2 separate regions of the Homo sapiens genome follow, and region 2 is linked to region 1. The links are contacts of gene promoters, found by promoter capture Hi-C in blood cells and fetal thymus (Javierre and others, 2016). All regions are on one chromosome and are shown on one strand. Each heading gives the region's core, a stretch centred on a gene start or on the middle of the fragment in contact. The rest is flanking DNA. Distances are from core to core; before and after follow the strand shown. Region 1 holds the start of CD82-AS1 (CD82 antisense RNA 1). Region 2 overlaps TSPAN18 (tetraspanin 18).

Region 1 (5,011 bases), core at 593-3,092:
TTAGGGGAGCAGATTAAAAACGCAGGTCCTTGGCCTCCTGCTGGGAGCGTCTTGGTCGGGTTGTAACGGACTCAAGCATCTGCATCCCTAAGAGGCTCCTCTGATCCACACTACTCTCCAGCCTTCTGGAGACGCCAGCACCCTCGCCCTCCAGGTGCGTCCCATGCCCTGGGGGTACAGTGTACCCATGCTGGTGAGTTAGAGATGACATGAGCTTTACCCTGTGTGATGGGTTGGGTGTCTTAGGAAATGTTGGCCAAGTGCCCCTGCAGGACTCCTGACCTCTACCTCCCGGAATGGGCCTGTCCACAGGTAGCTCTAAAGAGGGTCTTAGCCATCAGGCCCATTCCTGTACCTCCTAAGCATCATTTCCTCCCGGGCTTCTTTCTTGCTCTCACTGGTCCGTTCTCTCACCTTCTTTCCAATCTTCAAATAACCAAGCTCCTCCTTCCTCAGGCCTTTGCACCTGCTGTGTTCCCTGCCTGGAATGCTTTTCTTACAGATCTTTGCTTGGCTGACTTCTTCATTCATGTCTTGGCTCAAATGTCACTGGCTCAGGCTGGCCTTCGTCGACCCATTCTGACCCTCTCCCAGCCCAGCAGTTCTCTGCAGTTAGCCAGCTTTGGTATCTTCATGGCGCCCAACACAACCAGAAAACCTGTATTGTGTACTTTTTGTCTCCACTCCCCACCCCCAAATGTCAGACCTTGTTAGTCACTCTTCTGCATCCCCAGCAACTGGCACAGTGCCTGGCATGAAGTGGGCACCCAGTAAACATTTCTTGGCCGAATGAACATGCAGCACACCTGTAGCAATACATGTGCCCCGTGCATCAGTGGAAAGAGTGTGGCACTGGAGATTTGCATATTTTCAAATTCCAGCTCAGGCCCTTGCCTGTTCGCCTTTCTGAGCCTCATTTTTTTCTTCTGTGAAATGGCCATGCTAGTGCCTGCCAGGCAGGGTGATGTCAGAGTTGGAGACGGCGTGTGGAAAGCCCATGAGGCACAGTGAGTGGGCAAGAAAGGCTGGTGTTTGTTATTATATGGACAAGAAGGAAGGCGGGTTAAAAATCAGCTTGGAATCTTAATGTCAGTGGCCCCTGGAGAACCAGCCAGCCTCTTGTCTGTCAATTCCGCAGATATTCACTGTGCACAGCACCTCACTGCGAGAGGCGCTGTTCGAGCTGGGGGTTCCCCAGGAATAAAGTGAAGCTTCTGCCCTCATGCACCTCAGGTCCTTGGTGGAGGGGGAGAGCAGACAATGAGCAAGAAGAATCAGTGAAATGTAGTCTATTCAATCCTGAGAAGCCTTACGAAGTAAAAAATAAAGCCGGGAAGGGGCTTAGGCTGGATGAGGGTGTGGATTGCAATTTTACTGGGGGAGGGACACAAGTGGGGATGGGGGTGACCTGGTTCCCTGTTGGGCAGTGAGAAGCCAGCAGGGGAATGCAGCTGACCCCAACACCCTGGCTCCAAAGAGGGGATCCGGAAGAAGACCTGGACGGTTAGGCCAGGTGTTTATACCTGCTGTGCCCACTGATTTTGTACTTCTTCTTCCCCCTAGAAACCTCCTCCAGCTCGCTTAGGATGGGGGCCTATGTCTTCATCGGCGTGGGGGCAGTCACTATGCTCATGGGCTTCCTGGGCTGCATCGGCGCCGTCAACGAGGTCCGCTGCCTGCTGGGGCTGGTGAGTACGGATCCCTCCGCAGCTGCCTGCCCATTTCCTCTCATCCAGCCGAGTGCAGCCTGACCGCGGCGCTGGCCGTAACATCGGGTGGAGAGCATCTCTCGGGGCACGCAGGCTGGGTGCACCTGGTCGGGGACCCTCAGCTGACTTTGTGCCTGCTCTGTGTCCCCAGTACTTTGCTTTCCTGCTCCTGATCCTCATTGCCCAGGTGACGGCCGGGGCCCTCTTCTACTTCAACATGGGCAAGGTAAGCCCCTCTCTCCCTCCCTCTTCACTGGGCTGGACCAACCATGGGGGTGATTGACTGAGTGTGGGGGATGGACAAGGAACCCCCCCAGTTGTCACAGACAGATCCAGTAGGTGTCAGGGACGGCCTCCTGGACACTATTCCTTGTGATCAAATGGGGGAGCGTTAGAAGAGAAGGCGGCAGGTGTGGGCAGTCCCCGCTGGGCCTGGATCTTAGCCTGACCCCCCTGCTTTCTAGCTGTGTGGCCTTGGGCAAGCTGCTTGCCTCTATGTGCCTGTTCCACCATCTGTAAAATGGAAACAATAAGAAAACTGAACTCTCAGAGTGGTTGCAAAGATTATTCGAGATTATCTGAGTGAAACACATAGCGCATGGCACCATAAGTACTCAATAAATGTTATTCTTGTTATTATTAAGATACTTTAGCAACTATTAAATCCATGCCACTCACCCACAAATGAGGTTTAGAAGGAGACCGTTAATAAAAACATCAGTCTTGTGTCCGAGGGGAGATGTTCAGCTTTCAGAAACAGAAAATCAGACTTACAGCGGCTTAAAGTTGAAGGACATCTGTGGTTGACTTGACCGGAAGTCTGGTTTGGAAGCTCAGAGGCCCTGGTTCTGGCTGTTGAGCATCCTCGCTGGGATGGCTTTCCTGCATTATGACACTTACCTCGTGGTTCCAAGATGGCTGCCACAGCACCAGGCACGATGTCTGTGCCGCTGTGGCCTGAAGATGGGGAAGTGGGCAGTGCCAGACATGGCCATCCCTTTTATCAGAAAAGGCGCAGTGGCTCATGACTGTAATCCCAATACTTAGGGAGGCAGAGGTGGGAGGATTGCTCTGAGACTAGCCTGGGCAACATGGTGAGACCCCATTTCTACAAACAAATTTTTAAAAATGCTAGCCATGGTGGTGTTCACCTGTGGTCCCAGCTACTCAGGAGGCTGAGGCAGGAGGATCCTTGAGGCCAGGAGGTTGAGGCTACAGGGAGCCATGAAACAGAGCTTGGGGCAACAGAGTGAGACCCTGTCTCAAAAAAAAAAAAAAAAAAAAGTCCTCCAACAGACTTCCCCAGACTGGGTTACAAAGCCACCCCTGGTTGCAAAAGAGGCTGAGAATGTGAGTATCCAACTTTCAGACTCTAAAGACAGAGGCACAAGAGAGAAAGGAGCCAAGAATGGCTGTTGGGTGAGCCAGTTAATTGTGAGTCACAGTTATCACGTAAGAAGCACCTACTGTGTGCACGTGGGATCTTCTAGAAACTTTCCATACAGCGTCTTGTCCTCACAATGGCTCTGCAGGGTTTTATGTTGACAGATGGAGAAGCAGATGCTCTGAGATGAAGAGCAATAACAACATAGATAACAGTGACTCTAACACCCACCATCCCTCCAGTTGAGTCCATGCACAGCATATACCAAGTACAGTGTTGACCACGTTACACTCCTCCTCTCGCAGATCCTCACTAGGCCCTCTCAAGGTCGTGGGAGAATCCCCGTCCTGCAGATGAAGGAGTAAGGACAGCCTAGGCTCCCTGACTCCGAGTCCTGAGTTCACCCGTCCCCAGACCCTGCTGCACATGGCCTGTGGCCTAGCAGACCCTTAGGGTCCCTGCTTCCAGTGCCACCAGTTCTTGTCCACCAGGGAGGGTGGCAGAGCCGGCAGCCAGATAGGCTCCTGCCCTTCACCACTTGAAGGTCAAGTTGCCTGAGATCCCTCTTGGAAGGAAACTGAGAAAACACTATACCAACATCAACATCAACAAATAACATTTAATAGAACTTAGAACTTAATGGAACTTCACAAGACAAGATACTCTTGGTAGCTAAGGGCTAACTTGGGCACTGAGCTTCCTGGCAGTCAAGGCAAAAGTGGAAAATAGTGGATTTTGTAGATGAAAAGCAGCTTGTTTGGCTGTGAGACAGGAAGCCAGCAGTTAAGGGAGGGAAATTCCTTTCCCAGAAAAATGGTCATGGGGTCAGGTCTTCATTTCTGTCCTATGGCACTGAGCTTCTTTAGGACCTAGTTAGTGATATAATCAGGGTGGATTAGAACCAGGCCCCAGTGAGCCGGTTTCTATGACTCAGAAGCTGGTCGCCTCTGCAGGGATCTTGGGCAGTCCACCCTATGTGATTCACCATCTCACAGTAATAAATATGGCCCACCAGGTTGGCACCAACCACATGCCAGGAGCTGAGCTAGAAAAGTGAGCTGCAATACATGTTCAAATTTACAAACATTTTCCATTTGAAGAAACTGAGGCCCAGGAAAGCAAAGTGACTTTCAGCCACTGACACACACAGCTTGGATGCATCAGAGTGGGGATTTCCATCCTGATGCCTTGGAGTCCAAGGCCCATGCCTCCCTATCCACCACGCTGCCCTCCCGCCGGCTGGGTAACTCTGCTTGGCTGATAATGAGGAGCTTAGCCTCAGAGGTGTCCTATCAGCCCCAGAACAGGACTTGTTTGGAGATTTGGGTTTCTCGACCCCAGCCAAGCTCTGTGCATTGCACCCCCTGCCCCTGTCTTCCCCTTCAGAGTCCACACCCCCTAGTCCCAGCCTGCCTCACCTTAGTCCACCACCATCTTTTCTGGAAGGCAGGGGGAAATTTTCTGGCTTTGCTGAAGAAGTTCTGGTGCCACTGTATCGCCCGAATTGGAATGAACAATATATTTTTTTCTTTCGCAACGCATCATAAATCTCAGTGGAAGACTAAACATACTCTTGATGTGTTTATTCTGGCAGACAAGGCTCAGCGTGGGGGTGGGACTTGTTTGAACCTAAGGAAAAGAAAGGCCTTTTGAAAGGAGATAGGGCTCCCGTGCAGGTGGGTGGGAGTGACCCTGCTGTGGTCTCCAGGGCTGCCCTCTGTCCTTCCTGCCTCTGTCACCCGCAGCCACTCTTCTCAGGGCAGCGATGGGGAGGTTGGGGACCTTGGCATGGCCTGTCACCTCTGGAGCCTTGGGTTCTGCTTCTATAAATTGAGAATAAATCTGCCTCTCCCTGCTCTACCACTCAGGTTGAAGTGAACACAGACTGTGACACTTCTGTGAAAATGCAGAATGGTGT
Region 2 (5,026 bases), core at 1,156-3,655, 170 kb after region 1:
GGCGTCTGGGCACACTGTTGTAAATGTCAGTCTTCACCGAGTGGCCCAGTTATTGGGCTTTACAGCCTGCAGTGCAGGCTGGTGTGCTCTGCAGTGGCCTTCACATTCGCTGTCTTCTCATTCTATCTGCCCAGCCACCCTGGGCCGGGACTCAGGAAAGGAACTAGTAAGACCACTGTATAGATGTAGAAACTGAGGTCCACTTGGGGAAAGATTGGCCCGAGTCACATCTGGCTGGTGGAGGGGCTGGGACTGAAGCCAGCAGAGACAGCTGTGGTATTGGCCCTGATTTAAATCCTGGTTCTCACTTGCTGGCTGGGAGACCATTAAGCTTCACGAGCCTTGGTTTCTTTATCTGTGAATTGGGCACGATAACCTTTCCCTACAGAGCTACTGCTGGGGTTAAGGGTGAGGATGTGGGTGGGCTGCAGACCACAGCCGTCATATATTTAAAGGGAAAATAGCACCTCTCCTGAAGAAGAAATCAACATACCAGTGCTGGGACCCTGTGTCCAGCTTCTTTCTGCTCTGCCGTCCTTCTTCTGAGTGTTGGTGGTTTTACAGTCAGAACTTGCAGCTGGAATGTCTGGGTTTGAGCCCTGTCTCTGCCCCCGACTCTCCGTGTGACTACAGTCTGGGCCTCAGTTCCCCGTCTATAAAGTGGGGATAATGATCGAAACCTGCCTCCTAGGGCTGCCATGAGGATTCCAGGGAAGGTAGCTGAGGAAGTGCTGGGTCAGGGCTGGCCATTGTCATCCTAGGACCTGGTTGAGTGTGTCTAGTTTCACCATGCTTCTCTAGATTTGGCTTATATTCTGAGTGTTTTAAAGGGATTGGGTTTGGGACCCAAGCTCCCTTTTGGTGCCCCAGGAGCCTGCATGGGCAGCCTGGGGAGGAGAAAGATACCCCCTCTCACAAGCTGGCTTCCTGCACTGTCTGGCACTTTACCCCTCTCTGGGTGCTTCCCCAGGCCTGGTTCTAAAGAAAGATGTTAAGAGAGACCTGAGGGTAGCTTAGGAGCGGACCTAGATGGGAGACTTCTGCCCTGCCATGGCCCCTGAAGTAGGGTACCCTGCCTGGGGGATGCTGGCCCTCAAATAGCTTCCCTATTTGGGAACTTTTGTGCTCCCCCATATGTCATACATTTCTAGCATCTCAAGAGGTGTTTGTTTTTTTCCATATCAAGGGATCCATGGAGTGAAGAGACCTATGTGTGACCTCTGAACCCTTTATGGGGGATTGGGTTGGGGGTGGGGAGGACACCCTGCCAAGGTGAGGCCACCTCATCTGGCCTCTGGGCTGCTGGCTCAGCCACCTCCTGGGTCCTGCAAGCAACTCTGCTTCAGCTCCCGGTCACCAGCACCTACTTATGCCAAGCTGCTGCCTTGTTCTCCAGCTCACCCACTTCCCAGGACCCCTCCGGAATTCTGTGGGGATGGGGAGGTTGCAGCTAAGTGAATAGTCACCCTATTATTTTAGGAGAGGAACAACAGCCTGTGTGCAAAGCCCCTGGGTAGGGCTGGTTTATTTATGCATTTGTCTTTAATGGGAAGGCTGAGAGAAATTGCATGGTTTGTGAATATTTACAGGCAAATTACTACAGGGAGGAAATGAATTCATTCTCTCTCCTCTCCCACTGTTAATAGATCACACTGTGGTTCCCTGAAGCCTGCCTCCCACCTCCCCCCCTTTTCTTTCTTGCAACTCCTTGTAGTCTTTATGCCAGCTCCAGGAGGGTGTCCGGGTAGACGTGCCAATTTAATTTACCATGCAGTTATTGAGCGCTAACTGTATGCCAAGCCCTGGTTCAGGGACTAGGGATACCCAGGTAGGCACCACATGTGTGGGTTCTGTCTGCGGGGCTCTGGGGCAAGCTGGCTCAGGAGAGAAGGTGCCTCTTAAAGGATTTTTCCCCCCAACAGAAAGGATACCCTAGGGGGTAGAGCACAGGAGAACCCTTGGAGAGGTTGAGCAGATGGGAATTATGCTCCAGGTGGGGGGTGGGGCAGTTAGTCTTCTGGTGTGGTTAGAGCACCCATGGGAGGAAGAAGGAGGTAGAACTAGAAATGGGGGCTGGGCTGGGTTCTTTCTAGTTCTGAGGTGGGGAAGGAAGGTGGGGAGAGGGGAGAGATTGCCCAGGATGGTGCAACTTGTGTAGCTAGCCAGAAGGAGCACACCTCTTGTTTAAGGGCCTGAGTTGGCAAATAGTAGCCTCTTATGGGGAGAGGGGAGTTTCTCCCTCATCTCCCCTTTCCTTGGGGCCAAGAGGTGTAAATGGGAGGTCTCTGGTCTGTCACTCCTCCCTCTCTTTTTCCCCGCAGACATCACCAATCAATTGCAGCACTTTTGTTGGTTCCAGAATCCTCTGGAAAACAAGCTAGGCAGGCACTATCTATTGATTCCAGCTGGCCTTCTAGAAGGAAGGTGAAGGGCCTTCTAGTAGGTGGGTGGCTGGACCTTAGGGTAGCCCCATCAATGAATTTGCAATGGAGGAAATCTCTTTGTGTCTCAGTTTCTCTACCTGTAAAATGGGGAGAGGGATGGCTCACTTGGTCTCTGAGGACTTTCCCAGTGCTAGCCAGCCAGCATTTGTTAATACCCGCATTTATTTAGTCTTTCCATTAAGCGTGTGTGCACTTACTCTGGCTGGTGCCAGGTGGGGCCCTGGGATACACAGGTGATCCTGGCAGCTGAGACCTGGCCTCCTGAAGCTGACAGTCCTGGCAGTCTGTGGTTCTTAGAACCTCAGGTGTTGAGGTCAGCTGACACCAAGGGCAGGGCTGTCTTGATTCTTCCAGATAGATGGCACCCAGTGCAGCCAGCTGTCCAGTGGCTGGAGGTCCTGGGGATCTCTGGGGACATTAGTCTTGGTCTCTGGGCCCACACACCGGGCATCCTCCCAGGATGGTTAGATGCCATTAGGCTCGGTCTATGCAGTAAGAGCCACAGCCAGGACCCAGGTCCTGCTGAGCCAAGTGAGGAGCTGTGGCCACTGGGGATCCTGAAAGAGCCCCAGGCCACATGTATCTGTCCTGGGAGCCTGCCCCAGGATTGACCCCCACAGCCCTTTTTGGCAAGGGAGAGGCCTCCATTGTGCTCCGTTTCCTTCTAGGTGCGCATGTTCCTCCTCAACCATTCCTCCCCACCCACTCCATGGCTGTGTTCTCAGTTTACCCCAGGTCATGTCAAGTGAGATCAGCCCTTTACCCTCGGGATTCTGAAATAGGGCCAGGGAAAGGCCAGGTATTTCTGAACTATCTAGGCACTCCCTGGGGCCAGATGCTTTCAGATGCCAATAAAAACACTGTGTCCTTTTTGTGTTCAGTGAAGGCCCCTCCTTGACCTGCTCTGGGCAGGAGTGACTAGGAATGGTCAACTGGTTTTAGACCCTGGAGAAGGTTAATGGGATCAGTAGCGTCCTAGGCTGGGAGCCTTTGAGATTAGAGTTGTGGGTGAAATTCATCAATCTCATGGAGAAAATGGAGTATACCACCATGGCCTTGTGAAGACATGGATGGCCTTCTACTGCTAATGGGTACACACACTGCTGCATGCTATGCCTTAATGCCTGCCTTCCATGCACACAACTACCCACATACCTGTGCATATTTACACACACACTGGCACACATACCTGCATACCGGTGCATATCTACATATATACCTGCACACCCCCCACATACCTGTGCACACCTATCCACATGCCTGTGCATGTCTATGTACACTCCTAAGTGCCTGCACATTCCTACCCACATCCTTGTGTCTGCCTATGCACACACATGCACACATCCCTGTGGACACCTACACACATACCTGTGTATACTTATGCACTCATCTGCCCACATCCCTGTGCACAACTACACACATACCTGTGTATACCTATGCACATACCTACCCGCATCCCTGTCTGCCTTTGCACATACCTGCACACACCTGCCTCCGCATTCCTATGCGCATCTATGCATACACCTGTACACATTTACACATGCACACACCCATTTGTGCAAACGTCTTCACACACCTCTCCTTCACCACCCCCGAGCTCCTACGCACCCACCCACACATCCTTCCCTACACATTTTCCTTCAGATTCATTCACTTCAAATATGTCCTCCCTGCCTCTCCCCCACTGTATGCAACACACACACACATGCACACACACGTTCACAAGCTGCAACCAAGCTATTAGATGAAATTGATTGTTTCTCTGCTGTGGGCCTGCAGGACTCAGGATTATCTCTTTACTCCAGATTATCCATTTACCTGGATGCCAAGCCCAGCAGGGGCTCCAGGGAGGATGGGAAGGTTGAGACAGGGACAATCTGGGCCCAGTACAAGTGCCCTCCGAGGCTGGGTACATTTTCTGAGTCCTGTTTCATACCTTCCTCTGCTCATTCATTCATTCATTCACCTACCATCCGTTCATTCCAACACTTACTGACAGCAGCGATCCAGACAAAAATATGGCCTTTGCCCTGACAAAGCTTCCCTTCTTCTTACAGTCCACCAACTTCATCATTTCCTTCATGGTTCTGATATTTGTTGAGGAGAAAATGACGTCGGACTTTGATGCTTGCTTTTTGGAACCAGACTTCCAGTCCTGGAATCCAGTCTGTGTCTGGAATCCACTTGCTAGACCTTGGCTATGTCATGTCACCCCCAAGCCTCTGTCTATTTCCCCATCTGTAAAATAGGGATCATGGTTCCTCACTCCTGGGGAGGGGCTTGAGCCCTGTGAATGGTAGCTGTGAATACAGACTTGGGAACTTCTGTGTTAATCAACAAAACCTTCCTTAAAACAGGGCCCCACAACTTGCCAGCTTCCTAAGGCTAGGGTGGGGACCCTGGGAAACAGTTTTGAATTCCTGGTGAGACTTTGAGCCTATCTGTGGAGTACCTGCTTTTCAGACACGGCGGTGAGCTTATTTTTTCTGTCCCTTTAAGAGAAAGCGGTTGCGAAAGGACTGGCTTATCACAAACATTAAGGACATCTGATGCTCTAGAGGTTTCTGCAGAGGGCCGGAGGA

What was found. The method cuts DNA at HindIII sites, captures the fragments that hold promoters and counts their contacts. A CHiCAGO score of 5 or more calls a contact.
Region 2: a fragment that was not itself captured here is called in contact with the fragment with the promoter of CD82-AS1 in region 1 in 2 of 17 cell types (non-activated CD4 T cells and naive CD4 T cells); the score reaches 6.1 in non-activated CD4 T cells.

The regions. Positions count from the first base shown.
Region 1 is chr11:44,603,495-44,608,505 of GRCh38, forward strand. CD82-AS1 (CD82 antisense RNA 1) reads right to left here and starts at 1,843. Exons shown (of 2, transcript NR_182290.1): 1 at 1,524-1,843; 2 at 1,014-1,236. It overlaps CD82 (CD82 molecule), which reads left to right. Exons shown (of 10, transcript NM_002231.4): 5 at 1,564-1,688; 6 at 1,861-1,935. The HindIII fragment of the contact is 7,514 bases long and covers 1,210-5,011 here.
Region 2 is chr11:44,776,065-44,781,090 of GRCh38, forward strand. The region is part of intron 2 of TSPAN18 (tetraspanin 18); the gene reads left to right. Among named protein-coding and RNA genes, the nearest start is that of TSPAN18-AS1, 42 kb to the left of the region's middle. RefSeq lists enhancers at 813-1,314, 1,315-1,814, 4,335-4,504. The HindIII fragment of the contact is 4,152 bases long and covers 330-4,481 here.